Regions from separate parts of the Homo sapiens genome. Here regions 2, 3 and 4 are each linked to region 1. The links are contacts of gene promoters, found by promoter capture Hi-C in human tissues and cell types (Jung and others, 2019). All regions are on one chromosome and are shown on one strand. Each heading gives the region's core, a stretch centred on a gene start or on the middle of the fragment in contact. The rest is flanking DNA. Distances are from core to core; before and after follow the strand shown.

Region 1 (2,700 bases), core at 67-2,566:
AGTTCTGGGGGCGCACGGCTCTGGACTCTGCTCACTCACGCGGCCTCTCCCTCGCCCTCGACTCCGCCGCAGCCTGGACCGGTCCTCGCGGTCTCCCGACAGCCAACGATGGTTTACAAACACACATGCACTTCGCTGAAGGATGTCTGGGCAATCCCGCCTCCCGCTCGGCGTCCTTGGCGACGCTCTGCACCAGGACCTGCCCCGAGGTCACGCAGAAAAGACAAAAGGGCAGTCGGGCCGCCGCAGCCGGGCAGAAATATCCACTAGTCAGCACTCCGGCGAGGAACTCCAAGAGGCCAAGTGGAGGATGAGAGCTGCTGCGAAGACTGAGTGGGGACTGACTGGGGGCGGACTTAAAAACCAGGCAGACCGGAAGGAGTGGAAAGGCAAAGGCCAAGGTTGGAGGTGTCAGCGTCCTGCTGGGGCGTACTGGAGAATGGCTCGGTGGCAGGTGGGCGGGTGGGATCCACTACTCCAGGCAGAGCCAGGCGGCAGCTGAATGGCAGTAGTGTGTGCGCGCGTGTCAACCCCGCTCGTCTCCCAGATAAGCCGCAGCTCCGCGGCAGACACCTGATGGCAAAGGTAGAAGAAACAAGAGCCGGGTTCCGGAGGGCGCAGAGCCACGGCCGGCCCCCGGCGGTCTCCCACTAGTGGTTCGTCCTTCTCAAAGTGCAGCAACTTTTCCCAGGCTTTGAATTCCGTCCCCCAAGGCCACAGTGGCGGTACCCCTGCCGGCGTGGCGACGCCGCCCGGCTCCTGGCGCTGCACCTGACGCGGCGGCCGCAGTCCCGGGTAGTCCTTCTCCTTCTAGCCCCTTCCCCTCTCCCGCTGCTTTCCTGGCCTCCCGCTCCAGGGAGCGAGGTCGGGGAGAGGGAGGGCGACGACTCAGAGCGGGGACTCGGTGGCTCTGCCGACTCCGGAGCCCCTGGCAAGTGTCTAAACAATAGGACGGACGCAGCAGCCCAAGTCTCGCTTGTCTGGAAGGAAGGTGGGTTGTTGTCGTAACTGGAGTTGTTCGCTGGGGCTGACTGGCGCTCAGCGTAGCCAAACAAAAACCCGGCCCGCGCCTCCGGAGCCGGCTGCGGGCCCCCGGCGCTCCCCTTTCTGCTCAGCACTCCCGCCGTGCCCAGAAAGCGCGGCAGCTTCGGCCTGCGCCTGGGCGCTTCGGCGCTCCCATGCCTCGCAGCTGCCTCCGCCTCCGCCGCCGCCGCCGCCGCCGCCTTCTTTTTTTTAACCACAGTCTGCGGCAGCCACCACCACCGCCGCCGCCAAGCTCCGCCGTCCGGGCGCTTCCCAAATAAATAACACCAAGTCCGAAGTTGAGCCGGCGCGGGCCTTATATAGCCGCCCGAGCCTCCGCCCCCTGACCCCGCCCCTCGAGGCCCAGGCCCGCCCCCTGGCTCCGCTCTGGGAGCCCGCACCTCGCTGGGGAGAGGGGAGAGGTGAGGCCGGGGCTGCCAGCGCTGGGCGGAGGCGGCGGCTGGCGGCGCGCGTTCCCGTGCGCCCTGGCTCGCCCCCTCGCTCCCACGCGCGGGCAAACTTGGCCCGAAGAAGGAGCCACCCGAGCCCCAGCCCCCAACTCCTTGGCCCCAGAGGTGACCTGGGCTCGGAGATAGTCGTTTGCAGTGGGAGAATGGGAAGAGGTCGGCTTTGAACGCGGCTCATAAATAAACAGCCCTGCCAGTGCCTCTCCTGCAGCTTTTGCCACGCGATCCTTAAGGGGGCTGCTCACTCTTTGCAGCGCAGCAAGAGACAGAGAGACAGAAACAGAGAAATTATGATTTAAATTTAAGAAAAATCCTACCGAAATAGATCTGCCTGCGCTTACAGACACACACGTGTATTTTGGGGAGCTGAAAAGTTCAGTTTTTGCAAGTTGGAAAACAGCATTTTCCAACCTTCTTGCTTGCCTTTCTATCTCCAAGCCACCCCCTTCCGTTTAACCCTTCCTTTGTAGACACACACTGAACCACACCGTGGTCAGTTGATGTCTTGGATATTCAATAGGCTCACAAAACTCTTAAGGGCTTGAACGTATCTGTGTGATTTTTTACTCTCTTATGAGAGAAAGGAGGGGAAAAAATAAATCCCTAGCAACGCACATTATACCAGAAGGTTTTCTTTATTTCAGGGCAGTTCTGGATATTTTTTTCCCCGCTATGTTTTGAAAGAGAATTTCCTTGTTTCATCTTGTCTCTTTAGTGTGACGTATGTCTGGCAACGGCTGCCTCTCTCGCCCCCCTTTCCCCCCCAGCAAGAGCCAATGTCACTGTAAGTTTGAAATGACATCTAAATGACTCTGCTCCTTCTCTTGGATTTAATATGCATCATATTGTTGTTCTTCCTCCCATTTCCACGTTAAGAAGCTTTCCCTGGAATTTGTGCAAGCCCCCGCCTAATACCAGCCTCATATTGTAGTAGTTATTTGTATAATTATTAGAAGCTTCCTTGAAAGCAAGACCTGTCCAACTCTTTGTATTTCCAGCATCTATGCCTGCCACATAATAGGTTTCCTCATAAGTAACCGATTTCTTTAACTCAAGAGTATGCTCAACCTAAAATCTCTGCAATATCCTCATTAACGTTTTTCCTGGTTAACATTTTCTAAGATGTCCTTTCATAATGGCTACCCCTACTTACCTCATTTTGCCTGCCTTGGAAAACGTAAGCCTTTTCGAGGACACGCCCAAAGGCAGG
Region 2 (2,700 bases), core at 191-2,690, 160 kb before region 1:
GGAAGCCAGTGCTTCAAAACATCAGGCTTTTTCACAAAAAGAATAAAATACCTAGGACTACAGTTAACAAGGGAAGTGAAGGACTTCTTCAAAGAGAACTACAAACCACTGCTCAAAGAAATCAGAGATGAAACAAACAAACAAATAAACATTCCATGCTCATGGATAGGAAGAATCAATATCATGAAAATGGCCATACTGCCAAAAGCAATTTATAAATTTAATGCTATTCCTATTAAACTACCATTGACATTCTTTACAGAATTAGAAAAAAATACTTTAAAATTCATATGGAACCAAAAAAAGAGCCCTATAGTCACAACAATCCTAAGCAAAATGAATAAAGCTGGAGGCATCACACTACCCAGCTTCAAATTATACAAGGCTATAGTAACCAAAACAGCATGATACTGGTATAAGAACAGACTCCAAGACCAAGGGAACAGAATACAGAACCCAGAAATAAGACTGCACACCTACAACCATCTGATCTTTAACAAACCTGAGAAAAACAAGCAGTGGGGAAAGAATTCCCTATTTAATAAATGGTACTGGGAGAGCAGGCTAGCCACATGTAGAAAATTGAAACTGGACCCCTTCCTTACACCACATACAAAAATAAACTCAAGATGGATTAAAGACTTAAATGTGAGCCAGGTGCAGTGGCTCACACCTGTAATCCCAGCACTTTGAGAGGCCGAGGTGGGCGGATCACCTAGTCAGGAGTTCGAGACCAGCCTGGCCAACATGGTGAAACCCCATCTCTACTAACAATACAAAAAAAAAAAATTAGCTGGGCATGGTGGCAGGCACCTGTAATCCCAGCTACTTGGGAGGCTGAGGCAGTAGAATCGCTTGAACCTGGGAGGCGGAGGTTGCAGTGAACCAAGATTGCGCCACTGCACTCCAGCCTGGGTGACAGAGCAAGACTCTGTCTCAAAAAAAAAAAAAAAAAAAAAAAGAAAAGAAAGAAAAGAAAAAAAACCAAGACTTAAATGTGAAACGCAAAACTATAAAAACCCTAATAGAAAATCTAGGCAATACCATTTGGGACATAGGCACAGGCAAAGATTTCATGACGAAGATGCCAAAAGCAATTGCAACAAAAGCAAAACTTGACAAATGGGATCTAATTCAACTAAAGAGCTTCTGCACAGCAAAATAAACTATCAACAGAGTGAACAGACAACCTACTCAATGGGAGAAATCTTTTGCAATCCATTTATCTGACAAAGGTCTAATACCCAGCATCTACAAATAACTTAAAAAAACTTACAAGAGTAAAACAACCCCATTAAAAAGTGGTCAAAGGACATGAATAGACACTTCTCAAAAGAAGACATACATGCGGCCAGCAAACATATGAAAAAAAATCCAACGTCACTGATCATTAGAGAAATGCAAATTAGAACCACAATGAGATATCATCTCACACCAGTAAGAATAGCTATTATTAAAAAGTTAAAAAACACAGGTGCTGGCGAGGTTGTGGAGAAAAAGGAATGGTTTTACATTGTTGATGGGAATGTAAATTAGTTCAACCATTGTGGAACACAGTGTGGTAATTCCTCAAAAACCTAGAGGCAGAAATACCATTTGACCCAGAAATCCCATGACTGGGTATATAGTCAAAGGAATATAAATCATTCTATTATAAAGATACATGCACATGTATATTCACTGAAGCCCTATTCACACTAACAAAGACATGGAATCGACCTAAATGCCCATCAATGATAAACTGGATAAAGAAAATGTGGTACATATACACCATGGAATACTATGCAGTCATAAAAGGGAATGAGATCATGTCCTTTTAGGGACATGGATGGAGCCAGAAGCCATTATCCTCAGCAAACTAACACAGGAACAGAAAACTAAATAGTGCATGTTCTCATTTATAAGTGGGAGCTGAATGAGGAGAACACATGGACACATGGTGGGGAACAACACACACAGGGGCCTGTTGTAGGGCGAGAAGTGAGAGGAAGGAGAGCATCAGGAAGACTAGCTAATGGATACTGGGCTTAATATCTAGATGATGGGATGATCTCTGCAGCAAACCACCATGGCATTTATGTAACCAACCTGCACATCCTGCACATGGTACCCCAAACTTAAAACAAAAGTTGGAAATTAAAAGGAAAAACATGGCAGCTTTCGTGAGCTGCAGTCTCTGATGGGCTTTAGCAGATCTGTGGTACTACAGAAATTACATGCAAATGCATATGAGCACAAGTGCATATGGGAGGTGGGGGTGGGAGAAGCAGCCCCAGGAGCTGTTAATTTAGAAGTAGATGGTATTCTTTCTTTCCATTTACATATTGTCTAGGACAAAGTGTCTGTATAAGAAAACTGTCACTTAAGTAATTATAGAGCAACACCATGAGCCACAGCGATGCAAACTCTGTTCTGTTCCAAGCTTTTCTTGGTTCCTCCAAGCAGCTGAGTCATTCTGTCCCCTAGGCTTCTCAGACTGCAGCTCACTCATCATTTACTCAAGGACTATTAGAGCGATAGAAGCTGGGTTTCCACAATGAGTGAGATAGAAATGGCCTTGATCCCAAAGTAACTTATAATCCAGTAGCGCTAGAAGGAGGTAAAAAAATAAACTAAAAATAAGCACATAATCACAAAAAACGAAGGTTCTTTGAGCACAGCAGAGTCAGCAAACTGAAATTTCGTCCTGCAGGGGAAAGG
Region 3 (2,700 bases), core at 167-2,666, 170 kb before region 1:
TGTGTGTGTGCTCTGCAAAATAGTAATTACTTCTGATCATGGTTACATTTACAATATGGACTTTAAAAACACATACTAAAATTTGAATCCAAGAGCTGTAAGTACGGAGATCAAACACATGACATTAAGAGTCAAACATGGGTTTAAATCTACTTCTTTTACTCCCTGTGAGACTTAGTCCTCAGTTTTCTCTTTGCTGTGAACAATTATGAACGTGCTGACTTTGCATTGTGGTAGTGTGGATGAGATGAGTGAGAAGTAATTAGCACAGTATGGATCACAGGGTAGGAACTCAAAATGGGTTTTCTTCTCTTCTCAGTCCTTCAGGTTTGTAATTTAGGTCAGAAGACTTAGAAATGAAGAGAGGCATGGTAAAAAGCATAGAGAACAACTGATTAAGACACATGAATTTCAATAACATTCTATATGTAGTTGGGGGAAAAAGACCTGAAGAGAAAAAGCAATAATCTATTCATAGTATCTAATCATTACTGGGAAGTTTTTAGAAGACTATTGACAGTAGTGATTATCAGCCATTGTTAGAAAGGTTTCAAAAAAAAAAAAAAAAAGAATGCAAATTCATAGCTTTCCCTGGATGGCTTCACTTCACTTGTTCAAAGACACCAGCAATGTTGGAAAAAATGAGAGCTCCTACAAGAACACTGGCCTGCAGCCGTTATTAATTAACTTTGGACACAAAATACCATACTCATAAGCACATCATATAGATAGGTTTTTAAAATGCAGCCATATGCTTTCAACTTTTAGAATCCATAATGACAAACTTTTGACCAAATATCTTTGATTCTGTGGATGTACAGACTTATTGTGTAAGAATATAATTTTTCCTATGACCTTTGAAAATGAAAAAAATGGGTTCTAACAGGCTACAGGACATGTATATGTACATTAACAGAAACACATACTCTTAATGTTTTATATAAAAATACCAACATTGATATCCTTTTCCTGAAGGAGCACCATCTAAGGAAGTAGCATGGTTTCACAGAACCTGTGATGTTATTAAAACTAAAAGCTATTGGTTCAGGCCGGATCACAACCATTTACAGGCTGTGGATTCTCAGGGAAAATCTCTGTTTTCTTTAAGCCTGTCTTTGCCTTTCAATTGAGGATTGAAGTCTGCTTATCTTGCAGATTTTCTAAGGATCAAATGAGATAAACATACTTCTTAAGCTCAGGACAGCTATACCATAAATGTTACATAGTGTTTGGTTAAAGCTTAGACTATAGAGGGCAGGTAAGATTCAGATCCTGGAGTGCCTCTACCTGGACTCTACTCCTAACTCTTAAATTTACCAGTTCTGAGACCCTGGGCAATTTACCTGCCTCTCTGTAACTGTTATTTCTCTGGGAAAAACAATGAAATCTTCCCCAGACAGTTGTTTTGGGGTTTAAATGAAAGAATATAAGCCCAGCCCATATGCACTACTTATCATTGTATTTTTTTATCATCATTATCAAATAACAGGTAATCTTTTTATTATGCATCTGTAGCTTTTCAGCCAAGTATCATTTCCTGCTCTGTAGATCCCAGCTCTCATTTCTTAAGTTACGGTTTAAGGTTCTCCTTCTTTTTCTGTCCCTCTTCAATCAATTTCCAAAACCTAAAGCTACTCTAAATATGTGTTCCTTACAATTTTAGTTATCATCAGCATGCAAATGGCCGTACCTGTCAACCTCTAGATCCTTTCTCATTAATAGCATCTTACACAGTGCATCTTTTCAGGTCATCTGTGATTGGATAACACACTGCTAAATCTAGTGAAATATGACTATTTTGCAAAACTGTTTTTCCCCTACCACCTTTTCTTATACAAAACTCCCTATTTTCTAAAGAATCTGATTCCCCAGCCTCTCCACTCATTCTTTTACTAGCTTTGAATTTGTTTTTGTATACATCATTTATAAATCTTCCCCTTCTATGCTGCCTCCTACACAGTGAAAGTTGTACTCAACTCTGTGCTCATCTGCCAGCAGTCCTGGTGATATCCTTTCCTTCCCTACTGCCTCCGCATTCCAGGTTTGGAGCTGCTTCATTCAAGCATGTGTTGGTTAAGCCAAAGTCAGCTGCCATGTGTTAGGTACCACACTACACACTGAGGATGCAATGGTGAAGAAGGAGCAACCCTGTTCTCAAGAAGCTCACAGTCTATAAGGGAGCACTGAGCAAAACACTCATTCACACATTAGTCTAATAGGAAAAAAATCACAGGTTTACAGAGAAGCTCCTAAGGTGACAGCAAATCCCAAACTGAATTGTCAGGGATAGCACAGAAGAGTCTTGAAAAACTCATGGTCATACAAAGGATTGGCATAGGAGGGAGAGGCAGGCAGAGAAAGGGACATATGAAAAAGCATGGAATCTGCAGCAGCTGGAAATAATGCTACACTTGAGTTTTCTCCATTTACTACTTTAAGTTTTCAGCAAAAGTACCACTTTCTCATGTAAAGTGTTCATATAAAATCTGTTAACTTTTTGGATATTTGAAAGACTAAAGCATTTCCTAGGGGCTTAAAGTTGAACTCACTAAAAGGAATTTCTATGTATTAAGAGTGGCTTTTCCCTTTACAAACGGATTTATGGACAGGAAGATTTGGAAAATAATATTTTTAGAAAGTAATTTCCAGCAAGTTAAAATTGTATCTAATCAATATGACATTTCTTTAAACGGGATCCTT
Region 4 (2,903 bases), core at 339-2,838, 240 kb after region 1:
AGGGCCATGTACACAAACTGATAACATGGGAGCAGCGAAACGTCATACTGATCAATTTATCATGACACCTTCTCTTCTAAATGTTCTGTCCTGCTTCTCAGAAATGTTGACCTCAATCTTTGACTCTGTGTGTTGGTGTTCCCTGCCCTGGCTTTCAAGTCAGTGTTTTCTGTAAGATTAGTCACATTTCAATGGTGCGTGTTATGCTTCAATTCTCACAGGGGATTTATAACACTTTTCTCAGATTTGTTGAAAGATTTTTCATGAGATTCAGGATTTAGAAAATCATAAATTTCCCAGTAAATATGAAGAAGGAAATCCTCCATGGAAACACTATCCAAATGAGATAAGAGAAGTTGTAACTGGATTTCCAACTGTCGATTTTATCATGTATAAAAGAACGTAGTTACCTAAATCAGTGAGAGAAATAGTAAGGATGGATACATGAAATATGACATTAGATCTATGTTTTTCAAAGTAGGGTTCCATATCAGCAACTTCAGCATCACCTTGGAACTTAGTAAAAATGCACATTTCTGGGCATCTACCCAGACCTATGGAAGCAGAAAACTCTGAGTATGGAGCCTCGTAATCTGTGTTTCAACAAGTCCCACAGGCGATTTTGATGCACATTGAAGTTTGAAGGTACCTTTATTAGATTTTCTTTCTTGTGAGTGCCACTCCACAGAGGAGTTGTCTTGTCTCTTCAAATTTCATTCGTTTATTTATTCATTATTCTTAAAGTAATTTAAGGAAACACTCCCTCCCCTAGAGCAGAGGCTTGAGAAACCAGAGTGGGTAATATCTGATAATTGCTACATGTGATTTTCTGAGATAAACTAAAATATTTTAGGCTGTTTTCACTACTTAGTAGTCTCAATCTTTCACTAGATGCATGACAATAGCAAAAATAAATACAATTATTTTTGGAGCATTTATCTGTAATATTTGGTGAATAATTTCTCTAAAACAAGACCCATATACCATAATTGTTTCTAAAATATCCCTTTACCAATCATTGTGTTTTTAGTAATACTATTAAGTTTTTTAGTAGTTGAGTTGAAATGCAACAAATACTTACTGCATGCTTAAGCATTGCATAAAGTGTTGTAGTGTCTCCAGATATGAGCAAGCCATAATTGCTTCCCTCAAACACATTGTGGGATGGTATAGTAACGGAGAAACACCAATTACCAACTAAAATACAAAAGAGAAGGAGATGAAATTGATGATAGGAGAATACATGGCATACAAGAAATATGTATACACACATATATATGCTTATGCATATATATGTATGTACATCTATAACTATACATACACACATGTGTGTATGTATCTGTTTATCATCTATCTACACTTAAAGATGCACATTTTTAGTTGTTTGGAAAGTTTCACTAATCAGCATGAGTCGTTCCCTGATCTGTTACAGTACATTTCATTTCCTGGGGTAACAGTGTAAGGGTACTATTTAGTGAAGAGGTCAGATGAATAACTCTTAGACTGGATGCTTACAAGGAAATGGTTAGAGTACAGGGTAGCTTAACCCTCAATTTTATCCATTTCAGTGGTTTCCACAGATGCACACAAGAGACACTGATGCTTCTCTTGAGAACAACTGACAACTGTATAGCTCAGTTGGTATTAATCACTGTGAATAGTTGTGGCCAAAGTTGAGGATTAAAGTTACACGGCAAATATAGTTCTGATATTGGGTTGTCTATATCAGTACATGTTACAGAAACCACTGCTCTGAGGATGGCAGCAACTTGATAGGGAAGATAAAACTCAAGGAAATAAAGGGGAAAAAAACCCGTTTTCCCCAAACTGAATGCATTTTATTTCCTTAAGTTCACTTCATCACAATGTATGCAGCTTATTCTTTAAAAATTACAAAGAGCTTCTTTGGGTACATTTGGAAAGAACAGCTCAAGGAATTTTGTCCTTCACATAAATCCATCCCAATATTTGCTGATTTCAACTCCCTCAAATCAATTTGTTCGTAAATAAGCTTGCTGCATTTATGATTGTTTTTGCTGTCATTCCTCCAGCACAGAAAAACTACTTGTCTCAAGACTATGCATGGTGGCTCATTCCTGTAATTCCAGCACTTCGGGAGGCCAAGGTGGGCAGATCACGAAATCAAGAGATCGAGACCATCCTGGCCAACATGGTGAAACTCCATTTCTACTAAAAATACAAAATTTAACTGGGCATGGTGGTGCGCACCTATAGTCCTAGCTACTTGGGAAACTGAGGCAGGATGATGGCTTGAACCTGGGAGGCAGAGGTTGCAGTGAGCCAAGATCGTTCCACTGCACTCAAGCCTGGCAACAGAGCGAGACTCTCCGCAAAAAACAAAACAAAACAAAAAAAAAACACCAAAAAACGTATCGTTATATATGCAAACCCTGGATTCAAGACAGAACTAGTACCAACAACAACCAACCAATCAAAAATGTGGAGAAAGGTGGTTGAAAGAAGGCTTTCTAATCTATCTAATTTTGGGATGTTGCTTCTTTGAAAGAAATAAAAATATATACACATACATATATACATTTGTATCAATATCAAATGATATATAATTGATAGTTTGGTGTATAAAATATGTGCCTCTCTACCACCCCTGACATGGACTCCCTGGTGGACTTCTGGTCATCTACTGGGATAATTTAGTCCCTTCTCAGTGCAGCCTTCTCTGTAAACCAAATCCCTTGGTGCTACCTTTACATATCTTTTTGAAAGGATTTACCAAGTAAAGAAACATTTGTTATTGTAGATCAGGAGTGTTTTGAAGCAGAGACTCATCTTGTTTATCATTTGACCCCCTAGATTAGGAATTGGAATACCATGGTCTGCTGTCATTTTGTCTACCCTATGAGCCAAAAATTGTTTTGAAAGTT

Evidence for each region. The method cuts DNA at HindIII sites, captures the fragments that hold promoters and counts their contacts. A contact is called where the count stands out against the background at its distance.
Region 2: a fragment that was not itself captured here is called in contact with the fragment with the promoter of SLIT2 in region 1 in 1 of the 25 tissues and cell types used here (dorsolateral prefrontal cortex).
Region 3: a contact is called between a fragment that was not itself captured here and the fragment with the promoter of SLIT2 in region 1, in 1 of the 25 tissues and cell types used here (hippocampus).
Region 4: a contact is called between a fragment that was not itself captured here and the fragment with the promoter of SLIT2 in region 1, in 1 of the 25 tissues and cell types used here (mesenchymal stem cells).

Annotation. Positions count from the first base shown.
Region 1 is chr4:20,250,521-20,253,220 of GRCh38, reverse strand. It overlaps SLIT2 (slit guidance ligand 2), which reads right to left and starts at 1,316. Exons shown (of 37, transcript NM_004787.4): 1 at 1-1,316. RefSeq lists an enhancer at 1-200. The HindIII fragment of the contact is 10,378 bases long and covers 1-2,700 here.
Region 2 is chr4:20,408,505-20,411,204 of GRCh38, reverse strand. The region is part of intron 4 of SLIT2 (slit guidance ligand 2); the gene reads right to left. Among named protein-coding and RNA genes, the nearest start is that of SLIT2-IT1, 18 kb to the right of the region's middle. The HindIII fragment of the contact is 3,848 bases long and covers 1-2,700 here.
Region 3 is chr4:20,425,540-20,428,239 of GRCh38, reverse strand. The region is part of intron 4 of SLIT2 (slit guidance ligand 2); the gene reads right to left. Among named protein-coding and RNA genes, the nearest start is that of SLIT2-IT1, 35 kb to the right of the region's middle. The HindIII fragment of the contact is 7,302 bases long and covers 1-2,700 here.
Region 4 is chr4:20,010,074-20,012,976 of GRCh38, reverse strand. LOC105374513 (a long non-coding RNA gene) reads right to left here. Exons shown (of 3, transcript XR_925449.2): 2 at 1,082-1,197. Among named protein-coding and RNA genes, the nearest start is that of SLIT2, 240 kb to the left of the region's middle. The HindIII fragment of the contact is 3,709 bases long and covers 1-2,903 here.